Linked DNA regions of Homo sapiens: region 1 is linked to region 2. Evidence: promoter capture Hi-C in 16 types of primary human blood cells and fetal thymus (Javierre and others, 2016). All regions are on one chromosome and are shown on one strand. The core of a region is centred on a gene start or on the middle of the fragment in contact, and the rest is flanking DNA. Distances in the headings are between cores, read along the strand shown. Region 1 overlaps CPEB2-DT (CPEB2 divergent transcript). Region 2 holds the start of CHIC2 (cysteine rich hydrophobic domain 2).

What was found. The method cuts DNA at HindIII sites, captures the fragments that hold promoters and counts their contacts. A CHiCAGO score of 5 or more calls a contact.
Region 1: a contact is called between a fragment that was not itself captured here and the fragment with the promoter of CHIC2 in region 2, in 1 of 17 cell types (total CD4 T cells). The highest score is 9.2, in total CD4 T cells.

Annotation. Positions count from the first base shown.
Region 1 is chr4:14,992,215-14,999,362 of GRCh38, reverse strand. CPEB2-DT (CPEB2 divergent transcript) reads left to right here. Exons shown (of 8, transcript NR_038857.1): 4 at 4,013-4,109; 5 at 6,461-6,651. Among named protein-coding and RNA genes, the nearest start is that of CPEB2-DT, 6.3 kb to the left of the region's middle. The HindIII fragment of the contact is 815 bases long and covers 2,195-3,009 here.
Region 2 is chr4:54,060,377-54,067,437 of GRCh38, reverse strand. CHIC2 (cysteine rich hydrophobic domain 2) reads left to right here and starts at 2,833. Exons shown (of 6, transcript NM_012110.4): 1 at 2,833-3,256. The coding sequence starts at 3,138. RefSeq lists enhancers at 1-928, 2,925-3,425 and silencers at 2,526-2,765, 2,996-3,125. The HindIII fragment of the contact is 3,181 bases long and covers 829-4,009 here.

The sequences.
Region 1 (7,148 bases), core at 1,353-3,852, about 39 Mb after region 2:
CTCCACTGGCGGAGCAGATCCTACCTCTAACCTACTCAAGACATGGGCTCCAACAGTTTTCTCTCTCTGTCCTTCATCATGACCTCTTTCCTCTCCAGGAAACACTTCCATGTGCACAAAAACTTGCTTTACTAGTTCTCACCTTTGAAAAGTAAAGCCAAAACCTTTTGACCTTATATTCTCCCTCCTTTAGCTACTGCCTTCTTTTTCTGCTTTTACATTGCCTGAACGACTTGCCCATTTGACTGAGTGTCTCATAGATACCTCAAATTAAACACGTCAAAAATTAAACTCCCTGCCTCACTAGGCCCAATCCCTGTGGCGCTCCATTGTTCTGGTTGCTCAGGCCAAAAACCCTGGAGTCATTCTTCACTTCAATCCACTTCTGTCCTTCTTGCATCATATCCAAGCCATCAGAACATGTTGCTTGTCCTACCTTTAAATTACTGGCATAACCTAGAGATACCGTGGGTTTTGTTCCAGATTACCACAATAAAGCAAATATCCCAATAAAGCAAGTCACACCAATTTTTTGGTTTCCCAGTGCATGTAAAAGTTATGTTTACAGTATATTATACTCTAAACATAAGTTCTCAATTATAGTCTAAACATAACTTGTAATTACATTTAAATAAGTGCACAGTAGCATTATTCTGAAAAATATACACACATTAATTTAAAAATACTGCTAAAAAGTGCTAATGATCATCTGAGCCTTCAGTAAGTCATAATCTTTTTGTCAGTGGAGAGTCTTGTCTCGACATTCATGGCTGCTGACTGATCAGCATGGTGGTGGCTGAAGGCGGAGGTGGTTGTGGCAATTTCTTAAGACAAAGATAGAGTTTGTCACATAAATTGAATCTCCCTTTCATGAAAGATTTCTCTGTACCATGCAATGCTGTTTGATAGCATTTTGTCCACAGAACTTCTTTCAAAATTAGTCAGTCCTCTCAAAACCTGCTAATGCTTTATCATCTAAATTTATGTAATATTCTAAATCTTTTTTGTCATTTCAGCAGTGTTCATAGCATCTTCATGAGGAGTAGATTCCGTCTCAAGAAACCACTTTCTTTGCTTATCCATGAGCAGCAACTCCTTCTCCATTCAAGTTTTATTGTAATATTGCAGCAATTCAGTCACATCCTCAGGCTCCACTTCTAATTCTAGTTCTCTTGCTATTTTTACTACATCTGCAGTAACTTCCTTCACTGAAGTCTTGAACCCCTCGAAGTCATCCAAGAGGGTTGGAATCAGCTTCTTCCAAACTCCAGTTAATGTTGACACTTTGACCTCCCATGAGTCACACATATTCTGAATGGCAGCTAGAATGGTGAATCCCTTCCAGAAGGTTTTCAATTTGCTTTGCCCTTATCCATCAGAGAAATCACTATGGCAGCTATAGCCTTATGAAATTTATTTCTAAAATAATACTTGAGGCTGTCCTGGTGACAACTTAGTGATTTTAAATTTTAAAATGAAAATAGAATTATAAAGAGGAGTTAGTTGCATTATTAGAAGAATTGCTTAATAGCAGCTTTATTTCAAAACAATCTCAGCACTTTGGGAGGCCAAGGCGGGCAGGTCACTTGAGGTCAGGAGTTCAAGACCAGCCTTGCCAACATGGTGAAAACCATTCACTTCTAAAAATACAAAAATTAGCTGGGTGTGGTGGCGCATGCCTGTAATCTCAGCTAATTGGGAGGCTGAGGCAGGAGAATCGCTTGAACCTGGGAGGCGGAAGTTGCAGGGAGCCGAGATAGTGCCACTGAACTCCAGTCTTATAGCCAGAGCCAGATTTTGTCTCAAAAATAATAATAATAATACTTGAAACTCATAATTACTCCTGAATCCATGGGCTGCAGAATTGAAGTTGGGTTAGCAGGTATGAGAACAACAATTATCTTCTTGTACATCTCCATCAGAACTCTTGGGTGACCAGGTATATAGTCAATGAGCAGTAATATTTTGAAAGCAATCTTCTTTTCTAAGCAGTAGATCTCAACAGTGGACTTAAAATGTTCAGTAAACTATGCTCTTTCCAAGTTTTGTGGTTCCATTTACCAAGCACAGGCAGAGTAGACTTAGCATGATTCTTAAGGGCCCTAGGATTTTCAGAATGATTAATGAGCATTGGCTTCAAGTTAAGGTCACCAGCTACATTAGCCCTTAAGAAAAGAGTCTGTCTTTTGAAGCTTGAAGCTAGGCATTGACTTTTCCAGCTATGAAAGTCCTAGATGATACCTTCTTCCAATAGAAGGCTGTTTTTTCTACGTGAAAACTTATTTAGTGTAGCCACCTTCATCAGTTATCTTAGCTAGATTTCTAGATAACTTGCTGCAGCTTCTCCATAAGCACTTTCTGCTTTACCTTGCACTTTTATGTTACGAAGACAGCTTCTTTCCTTAAACACGAACCGACCTCTGCGAGCTTTGAACTTTTTTCTTCTGCAGCTTCCTCACCTCTCTCAGCCTTCACAGAATTGAAGAGAGTTAGGGCCTTGCTCTGGAGTAGGCTTCAGCTTAAGGGAATGTTGTGGCTGGTTTAATTTTCTCTATCCAGACCATTCACACTTTTTCTATATCAGCAATAAAGCTGTTTCACTTTCTTATCACTCGTGTTCACTGGAATAGTACTTTTAATTTCCTTCAAGAACTTTTCCTTTGCATTCAGAACTTGACTAACTACTTGGTGCAAGAGGCCTAGCTTTCAACCTATTTCAGCTTTCCACATACCTTCCTCACTAAGCCTAATTATTTCTAGCTTTTCATTTAAAGTGAGAGACATGTACCTCTTCCTTTCACTTGAATACTTAGAGGTCGTTAGAGTGTTATTAATTGGCCTAATTTCAATATTGTTTTGTCTCAGGGAATAGGGAAGCCCAAAGCCTTTATTGATTAAATTATTGTCTTATATGGTTGTGGTTTGTGATGTCCCAAAACAGTTACACTAGTAACATTAAATATTATGATCACAGATCCCCAAAATAGATATAATAATAATGACAAAGCTTTAAGTAACGCAAGAATTACCAAAATGTAACACAGAGATACAAATTGAGCCATGCTGTTGGGAAAATTGTGCTGATAGACTTGCTTGATGCAGGGTTGCCACCAACCTTCAATTTGTGAAAAACCCATTATCTGAGAAGCACAATATAGCAGAGCACAATAAAGCGAGGAGTGCCTATATATCCAGAATCCAAGCACTTCACCCCATTCTCACCACAAGCAGCCTGGACCAGGCTACATCGTTGCTCTCACCTACTAACTCGTATTCCAGCTTCTGATCTTGCCCCTCTCCAGTCTGTTCCCAACATAGCAGCCAGGATGATACTTCTGAAGTGGAAGACAGGTCATGTCAACTCCTCTGACTAAATACTTACATTTTCTCAGAATAGAAGTCAAAACATTTTAATAACCAAAAGGTTCTTCAGAATCGCTCCTGCCACCACTAACCCCTCTGAAAGCTTCCCTACAGTGGAATGCTTATTTCTGTAACAGCCCAGGCCAATTCAGCCTTAGGGCCTTTGCCCTCGCAATTCCCACACCTGGAATACTTGTCTCCTAAGTAGCAACAGGGCTCACTTAATCATGTTTTTATCATTTTTTTTCATGTCTCTCTCACGTCTCTGCTAAAAGTCATTTTTCAGTGATGTCTTCCCTGACCACCATTGTAATAAAATGACAACCCCCCGCCGCCACTCTTTCCCAGCCTTCTTATTCCTCATAAGGTGTTTGTGTTTCCATCTGACCCACTATGTACTTGAACTGTTTATCTGTCCTCTCTCTGAGATCACAAGCCCATGAGGAAAGGTCCATGCCTGTTTTGCTCACTGTTGTATCCTCAGCACTTACAACGATGCCTTGCACATAGTAGGCTTTCAAGAGTTGGGAATTGCATGCACTTATTAAAGGGGTTGTTGAATTAATAAATAGCAATTTTAGGAAATGATAGCTAAAAGAATACAATAGTAATACAAGGGTCTGTTTATAAATGGTTAATTTGTTTTCAGGAGCTGTCCAAACACCATGCAGATGCTCCTAGGATTCTTAAACTAGCCAAAAATAATTCCAGGCATTGTCAGATATAGGATAAGTACATGAAGACAGGTAAGTCATCCCAAGACTATAACGCTGGGGAATAGATAACCCTGGAGTACAAGGGGGAAAACTTCTGTCTCAGGAGACTAGAGTTGGGACTCCAGGAACACAGGGGTTCATTACAGGAGCTTGAACAAAGAGAGGAGTCAAGACCCCATCTCATAGAAATGGAACCAGTTCAGGAGGCACTGCAGTTAAGGTCAACTGGATGCCTTACTTCCATGCTGCTGGTTTCTTTCTGTGGCAGAGCCCATGCCCATAAATGTAATTAACCCCACAGAATGGGAAAGCTTTGAGTCTTTAGATGGGAGCTAATTAGCTCTGGTTTGGAGTTGGAAAAGGAGAAAGTAGAAATTAAGATTCATTCTGACCTTGACCAACTTCAAGGTGCTTTATTGATGTGGCACTCAAGAGTAGTACCATCCTCAATTACTTCTAGTTCTCCTACTTTTCTAAACCTTCCTTCATAATTTCCTCCTTCACTTTCTCCTTACATATTCTTTACGTGTGAGAGTTCCTTAGGCTTATGTTTCTGGTCCTTTTCTATATTTCTACCTACTTTTTCTAGATGAATTTATTATCATGTTTTCAAACATCATCTAAATGCTAATGTCTTCCAAATCCATCTCTTTAGCCTCATGGTCAAAATCATATTTCCAACTGCCTGTTTAACAGTTTGACCTGGGTGTCCTTCAGCCACATCAATTCAATGTGTCTATACCTGCATTCAACATCTTCCCCAAAATCTGCTTCTCCTATTTTGCTTCTTGTCTTGGCTGACGTCATCATCACACAACCAGTTTCTCAAGCTGAAACATGAGTCATCCTCTTCCTTCATCTCTCTCACCCTCCAAAAACAATTGTCAACCATGCTCTGTCAATTATACTGCAGAAACGTTACTCAAATGTAATTCCTTCATGTATCTCCGCATTCCCTTGCCTTTCACATTCCTGGAACACAAGTGCCCAATAAGTATTTGTTGATTAGTAATTGCCCAATGAATGCTGTAAGAAGAAAAGATGAAGAAAAGGAGAAAACAAGGTAAGGAAAGGAAGGAGGGAGATGGAAGGAAGGAAAGAGGTAGATGTTTCCAAAGCATGCTTTACAAAGACATGAGCCATTTTGTGGATAACTGTAGCATTGTTACCTTATGTTTACTGGAGAAAAAATAAAATGAATAATCATAATAACAATGACAAAAAAGTTATTTTCCTTCCCAATATTTTTTCCTTGACAATACCAAACTAAAAGTTTCACTCTGGTTATTACGATCTCTATTCTGGTTATTATGCCATACAAAGATGAACTCATTGACAAAGAAAAATATCAAGAATCTTCCCCTGATGACAAAGTGTAGCCCCGAAACATAATAGAAGGTCTGTGTTACCCTTTGTGGCATCCAGGGGATTTATCATCCCACTCCAATACCCCCACCTAGGAGAGAACCTGTCAGCCTCTCCAGTAATTTCTGCCACGATGCTCACTGGGCCCTTACGTAGACTGACTGACTTCTCTATTGCTACTTATCTTGTATCTTTAAGGCCATGTGAACTCGATTGAATTACAAGTCTTTGTAGGCAGTTGCTATGCCTTATATGTTCTTTAATTTTCCTAGTTCTTATTGATTGATTTATGTATTCAGAAACTCTCTGTTGAGTGCCTGCTCTGTACCAGACACTGTGCAAGGCACTATGGGTATAACTGTGAAAAGAACAGAAAATATATCCATTATTCTGTACATCCTCACAGAGGCTGTAAATAAATACTGTTGACATTAGTTATGATAATTCCCAACCCTAATTATCTGGGCAGAGTCATAAACAGTGAGACTGTAGGCTGAAACTGACCTACTAAATTGGAATCCTACTTGCTGCAATATGACCTTGCCGGGCTGGTCATCGGTGGAGCCTTGTGATCTATACAGAATATTGAGGTAAGGCAAATCTAGCAAGAAGGCAGAAAAAATTACACACTGAAGCTCATCTCAATCCTGGCTTGAAATGGGACTTCTATTATTTCCTTTTCTTGTCACAATATACTTTGTGAGTAGATAAAGCGAATAATATTTTTGTTTTGTTGTTGGAAAACCAAAGCCCAGAGGTAAAGTCGTTTGCTTGAGATGGTTTGCATAGACTGAGATTAATGCCCCCATCTCCTCATTTCTCAGTCTCTTGCTTCATTAGTTGGCCCTCAGGCTAGTGCTAGAAGCAAAGACAAAGAGTGGGCCACTGCTCAGCAAGTACCTGAGTAAAACAGGGTCACAGGGACACACGCTTAAAAACGGTGCTTGGGTATATATATCCTGAGGACTTGAAACCAGTATGTCGAAGCGACGTCTGCACTCTTGTGTTCACTGTAGCATTAGTCGCAGTAGCGAAGACACGGAAACAACCTAAGTGTTCACCAACAGATGAATGGATGAAGCAAATGTAGCATATATACACAGTGGAATACTATTCAGCCTTTAAAAAGAAGGAAATCTGGCTAACTGCAACAACATGGATGAACCTGGAGGATATTATATAAGTGAAATAAGCCAGGCATGGAAAGGTAAAAACTGAATGTTCTCACTTATATGTGGAATCTAACACAATCAAATTCATGGAAGCTGGGAATAGAATGGTGGTTATCGAGGCCAGGGGCTGGGAGAACAGGGAATGTTGGTCAAAGGGTAGAAAGTTGCAGTTAGATTTAAAATGATAAGTATTTAAGCTGATTGATATGTTAACTAGCTTGATTCAATCATTCAACTCTGTATACATATAACATCACTGTATGCAATAATAATATACAATTATAATGTCAAAAAATAAAACTTTTTTTTTTTTAAAGCAACAGTCCCTGCTTCTACTAAAAGTTAAGGAGTGGAAGGGATAATCCTTCAAGTCTTCACAGTGACACCTAGCTACATGAATGAAAATTGGTAGTAGAGACCTCAGAGAAAAAGCATCTTATTTTCAAAATAACATATCCCACAGAAAATCAGAGATATTCCTCACATATGCTTACTCATTTTTCTCCTGTAGTAAGAATGAGGTCTGGCAGTA
Region 2 (7,061 bases), core at 1,584-4,083:
ACTCTCATCAGGAAAATGTTTGACTCATGTTCGCTCACCCCTTTGGCCTTCTTCCTAGGTCCCACACCCTTTTGCTGGCTCTGACAGGTTTTTCAGAACAGGAAAAAGAAGAAAACACACACACACACACACACACACACAGACACACACACACAGAAAGGAAAAAAGAAAAAGAAAAGGCAATTCCCTGCCTCTACCGTATACCCAGGCCGTGGGAGTTACAAAGATCTCTCTGTTGAATAGATCTTAGAATAAGAACATTTCTCCCACATCCAGCCAGTGTGAAGATAAGAGTGAGGTTCTCACAGTCCTCTGAAGCCTAATTAAGTCACAGTGTTCTGGAAAGAGCACTAGTAACACTGTATCTCAATTCAGATAACATTTATTAAGCTCCTTTTCTGAAGCAGGAACTGTGGAAGGTGCTGGAGTTCTAAGGAGCTCTGTGTGGCTTCCTCCGTCTTTGGGAAGTTGTCAGCTATGTGATGATTTAGATACTTTGGGGCACTAGCCCCTTATCTTGGCCACTGTTTCTACATAAGGGTGAATTCTCAGCCACAGCCAGGTGTGGGCTGTGCCAGGACATACTGACCTTATTTCCTCTTATTCTCTTTCTTATCTTCCCATTTGCAGCTGTTCCTTTAACTGAGTGCAGCCACTAGTCTCCTGGTTCCTGCCAAGGAGGAAATTCAGAGGCTGAGGAGGGAGGATCGCTTGAGCTGAGGAGTTCAAGGCTGCAGTGAGCTATGATGGTGCCACTGCACACCAGCCTAGGTGAGAGAGTGAGACTCTGTCTTAAAAAAAAAAAAAAAAAAGACATTCAGGAAAGCTTGGACCACCAGTATACTCAATTAGACCATTAAATCTTAAATCGTCACATGGCCTTGAGAAAGCCACATAGCATCTCTGAAATATAGCATATCATAGCATCTCTGAAACATAGCATATCTGAAAATAAATACACCCTCTTTGCTTACCTCACAGGTTCTTGGGGGAATATTAAATGATATATTATGTACGTGCTTTATAAGCAGTAAAATATTACATAATGCTGTGGTAACCCTCACAGGGTTGATAAGCTAGGGAGCCTTAAGCATCACCTATTACCCCGTATTTATTGTGTACTGGGCCTTCTTCTAGGCACTTCACCGATCTTAAGCCCTTGAATCTGCTGAGCATCCCAATGGGGCAGGTACTGAACAGGGAAGTTAAGTGGCTTGTCTAGGGTCACACAGTAAGTGGCAGAGCTGACATTCAAGGCCAGGTAGTCAGGTTCCAGAACACACATTGTTAAACACCAGACCAAGCTGCCTCCTGTGTGCCCCACTGACACTTCCTGTGTCCTCCTCCATGAGCCCCTGGCAGAGATGACAATTGCTTGCCTTAACAATAGATAAGCTACCAGAAGTCAGGGCCTGTGCCTCATTCACACACGTCCACAGTGCCTGCCACATAGCTAGAGTTCAGTAGATATTTGTTGAATGAACAAATACCCTCCAGGGAGGGATACAATAAGTCTGATACAACTACTGTATTTTTCCTTCATTTTTTCTTGGCTAACCACACTCATTTCCTTCAGTTGTTTCCAAAAGGAGGTTGGCATCTCTCACTGTCCTCATTGACCTCCTTTGCACTTTCTCCACGTCAACAGTGACCCATCTAAAGCCGACTACTGTGACATGAACACTGCACTTGAAGAGCCTGACCAGCGCTGGGCTCAGTAGAACTATCCTTTCTTCTCCCATGGTGTATCCTCACTGTCCAGGACTCTCTTCTCAGAAGCCCACTCCTTCCCCTGTGCTGTTTATATGCTTAATGAAACCAAGTACCCAAAGTGACCGTTCAACTGTTACTAGGCAGCTAAGTAGACTCCATTAAACCTTTTCCTTCCTTCCTCCCCTTCTTTCTTTCTCTCCCATTCTTCTTTCATTCTTCTCGTCCTTCCTTCTATCCTTTCTTCCTTCCTGCCTCCTTTTCTTCCTCTCCTCTGCCCTTTCTTTCAGGTCTTTTTTGTGGTAGGAACTGGTAAGAAAAGGAAAGGAATTCCCTAAGATTTTAAGGAAACAACAACAAAAACCAGGTTATGTTTGGTGAGAGAGTTGGGGCAAGAAACTGCATCTTCTAATATGGAATCCAGGTAATTTATCAGTTTTTTTTCATAGCATGACTACGGTGAGATTTCTTGTAAGAAAAAAAAAAAAATACCAGCATCGCTGGCCTCATATATTGGATTATACTTAAGGGGATCAAGGGATAAGATGTTTGAATTTGGAGATGTCTTGAAAAATCCTGTGGTGAGCACAAATGTTTGCAGTGTCTCTGCTGGACTCCTCAAATTGGGAAAAAAGAGACTCTGGTTCTCATCATAGACTCAAAACCTGAGGAAAAGCGAGATGCGATTATTAGATAAACTGGCAATGACACGCACAAAAATGTGTCTATTCCAGCCAGGGCTTTTCTTTTCAGTTGTTTGTTTTGGTTAGAGATGACTTTGGGGAACTGCATGTCCCACTGGACATTCCAAGCTGCGTTGTCGGAGTCGCGGGTCGCGGCCTCCAGTCAGCGGAGCCGCCGCCCCCAGGGTCCGCCACCCAGAAGTCGGCGGAGGGGGGCCCGCCGGCGGGAGCGCGCGCCCCGGTCGCCGTCTGCGGGTAGAAGCAGAGGAAAGACGGTGGCCTGGGAGCGCGCGAGGCCGCACGTGCGCGCGCCCGCCCGCCCGCCAGCCAGTCCGCTCGCCCACGCGCCCACGCACGCGCCCGCCCGCCCGTTGGCCCGGGAAGTCTCGCGATGCCGTAGCCGGCTGCTCCCGCTGCGGGTGGCTCGGGCTGTTGCTGTGGTTTCCTGAGTTGCTGCTGCTGCGGCGGCGGCAGCGGCGTCTGTGCTTGTGGAGGTGTCGGCCTCTGGGCGGATGTTGACATTGTGTTGTTGTTATTGCTGATGGTAATGGCGGCGGCGGTGGCGGCGACGGTCCAGACCCCATCCCCTCTGTAGCCGGAGCCGAGACAGCCGACAGCGAACTCCGCGGCCTCGGAGCCGGCGGCAGCGGCGACTCCCCTCAGCCTCCGCCGCCTCGCCCGCCGGTACCCCGGCGCCAACCCCGGGAGTCAGGCCCTTTGGGCAGGGGAGCTCGGAGGCTCAGGATGGCGGATTTCGACGAAATCTATGAGGAAGAGGAGGACGAGGAGCGGGCCCTGGAGGAGCAGCTGCTCAAGTACTCGCCGGACCCGGTGGTCGTCCGCGGCTCCGGTCACGTCACCGTGTAAGGCCCGGAGGAGGGCGAGGGCGGGAGGTGCGGGCTGGGGTGGGCCCCGTTACTCCACGGGAGCCCCGTTTCCCCTGTGTCCGTCTGGTGTCGGGGGCCTTCCGAAAGAGTAGGCAACCAGGAAGTGAGAACTTGGCTTATTTTCATTTGTTTGGGTCTCCGAAGTGGGGACGGACGCTGTCCTTCCTCCTCCACACACCCCTTTAGCAGGCCCTACAGGCCCGGGCGATGTGACGATCCCAGTAGGCACGGGTTTTCATTAGGGTCTGCCCTGCGGGCCACCCTTCCTCTTCAGGGTGGAAGTACGTGTATTGACAGGGAGCCTCCTTGTTTTCTCGCCCAGTTACCCTGTGGTTGTCTGTGCCTTTGCACCCAGTGACATGGCTCAGAGGCCAGATCTGGGCCGTGTGAGACCCCAGTGACAATTGGCAGCGAAGCTCCGTTTCGTGTCTATTTCACACATACCCACAGGTCTCCCAGTTTTTCCACTAATTTCCGCAGAACTAATGCAAGTTCTTGTAATTGTACGTGATAAAAATATATAGTTGAACACAAATTTAAGATATACAGAAAGAAATATGTTTACAACAACAACAACAACAACTACGTGAGGGACATACACTCTGCTCAGGTTACTGAGGGAAAATTGTAGTCCTGAAGCTCCTCCTTGGGGCACGAACTTGGGGCTTGTTAATTTGGAAAGTCCCACTAGTAACATTAAAAGTCTGATATTAATAAGGAATGAAAGCTTTCGGAAAGACCATGACAAAGGAATGTGAAGCCTTGAACCAAATAATGAGCTGTCCGGAAGCAGGAAGTTTTGTAATGTTTCACTATGAAGTCCACAGTTTTGTACCACTTGATGTATTACATTGATACTCTCTCATTTTAGATCTCTTGTTCAAATAATAGATCAGACTTCCATACTTGTCAGGTATCTCTGTACTTCTTCACCTTTTCAGTGAAACAAAAGAGCCAGCAAGTCTGAGAATGTCTGGAATAGTCTTCATTATATTTTGGTGAAGAGTGAGTGGGATGTGCTGTGAATAACTTAGGGAAACAGTAAGACTTCTCATATAAGTTTGTCAGCAAAATAATTGCATTTCTCGTATGACCAGCCATATTGTTGTTTGAGTATGCTTATGTAATGCTTTAATTTCTTTAGTACCTGTTAGTTTATGTTCAGGTGACTTAACAGGGTAAAAACACTGCATAATTGCCATCACAGCACCATGACAAGACAGTGGAATTTAATTCACCACAATAATACTTTCTAAGTGTTGTCACCAGCTTAAGAAGTATAACCAAATATCATGGATATTAAACTTTTAACATATATCACAGAATTCATAACCTGCCATTTGATTTTATTTTGACTTTTAGGACCTTTTTGCACTGTTTTAAGCCTAAGGAGTATGTGGATGCTTAAAGAAGTGATTTCCAAACTTTGTCATGCCATCTATCCCTCCTTCTACATTCCTCATGTCAAAGAAAAGCTAGAGAATTTTGTCATTTAAAAAGGCGACGCTGTAGTTGTAATGTTTCCTCTGTTAAGGAGAAGAAAAGCTAAGCACTTTGTTGGGCAAGTGGAAAATGCAATAGTGGGCAAAGTGCTCAGAACCTAGGTAATCAGTAAACTTGATTGTAGTTGGCTACGTGGAGAGGTTAATAGGGTAGAAAATAATTATTAGTGGTTTTCAAACTTAGCTGTCCATTAGAATCCTGGGTGTCTTTAAAAAAAGACCATTGTCTTTGCTCCACCCCAGGCCAGTTGAAGGCCAAATACTAAGTGAGGGTCCTAGGAGTGGACAGTTAAAATAATAAATAAATAAATAAATAAATAAATAAAATCTCACAGGTGATTCTAATGTGTAGCCAAGATTGAAAACTATTCCAGGTTATAGGGAGGGACTATCTATCATCAATAAACAGTATGCCTTTCTACATTGTGAGTTAAATCTCTGATTTTCCTCAGCAACTTCCTTCTTCTCCCATTTATCTTGGTTCTAGGCTCTGGGTTAAAATCTATCTCAGCTACTTCCTGGATAAATTGTTTATTCATGACCTTTAGTTGAGATGGGGATAGTTATAGTCGATACCTTTTAAGATTATTAAGGATTAAATGAGATAGTACATGAAAAGAATTTATTGCACTGTGTGGTACTATGTTCAATAGATACTAGTTTTTATTATTCTCCTCCTCAGATATAGTTTTCCACTTTGAGAAACAGGTGTAAAACAAAGTACTAAAAAATTAGAACTGCCATTATCAAACATAACAATGATTCACCTTAGTCTTATTTTTCCATTTCTAAGCAATGTGTATGTGCTTAAATTACTGTGTTTGAAGTATTTTGATGACAATAAGGATCTTTCTGCATTGAAAACTTAACCTGTTTTGTGGCGACATAGGTAATAATAGAAAACTTTTTTTTTTAACATGGCTCTGTCATGCATAATTCCCAGGCACACTAGCACACCATGCCAGTGGGTAGCCCAGTTAACATCTATAAAGGTTTTTAGAATTGGTGCATATGTATTACTATAACTGTTGAGCACATTCAATTTTTCTTGCTTTAAATATAAATGGGAAGAGCTATTAGAACAGTTGTAGTAAGACTGGCTAAATTTAACACCCCCTCCTCCACCTTTTTTTTTTATTAGGTGCTGATCAGAGCAGTCTTCCCTTACCAATTTGAAAGTAATTGACCATGTAAACTGAATCATCTGTAGTCTAGATCAGTCTAGAAGGATATAGATCAATCCATATGTTTTTCACAGATGTAACTTTTGAGTAGCCCTTTACAATTGACTATTTCTGCTCTTTTTTTCTACTTTAATATATTACAGTATTACTGTTTATTTTAGAAACTGGTATTCTCACGTGACGTGATTGGCATGTCATTGTGGTGATGTGAGAAAGAAAGTTACCTTCCATTCTCTAGGTTAGTCTCTAGGCATAATCAGATTTTTGTGACATAGGATGCAACATGTTTAATTTGCCTAAAGTCTGCTTTAAAGTGGCTTTTAATGCAAATATTTTCCTTTTTTTAAATACAAATGTTTTCATCGTGACCCCCAAATCAGACTTACTTTTTATACTTCTCTCATGATCAGTATTCTTTTCTGACATTCTTCTGTTTAAGTATAATATTTCCCTTCATTGTTAGATTTCTAGGTAGCAATATGGGGAAATCTTGTGCAGAAGCATATTTTGAGGAAAGTGGTATTGGAAGGAAGGAAAATAAATGATAAATTCCTGTTATTGCATAGTATTTAGGTACATGTAACCTAAAAGGCTTACAGTCACCATTCAATTAAAAGTAGATTTCCTTTTTGCTTTCATGGTGACTTCTCATATAATTGACGATGAGGAAAAATAGTTTCTAAAATAAACAGTAATACTGTAAAAAGACTATTAGGTAGTCTTGACCAGATTGGTTAATATTTTAAAATTATGGAGTTCCTTATGCTTCAAAATATATTTGCAAAATATGTTGATCATTTATTGAAGAGTTTCGTTTTTCACAGTGGTAACTCTAAAGGATGTGTCAGTCTAAAAGTTAGAATTTAAAAGTAGTTTTAGGCCAATATTTCCTAGGTAATCTGTCATTATAACAGACATTATTTGCTCCCATCTCCACTTTCTACCCTTCTTGTATCAGAATCAAACTTGGGGCTTTCCTAGAGTATGTATAATCTTTGACTTCTAACTCAAGCCCTATCATAGAGCCAAGTTATTTTGCTGAGGTTTGTTTCTAATGTTATTCTCTTGTAATTTTACCGTGTCTTCATGTACTCT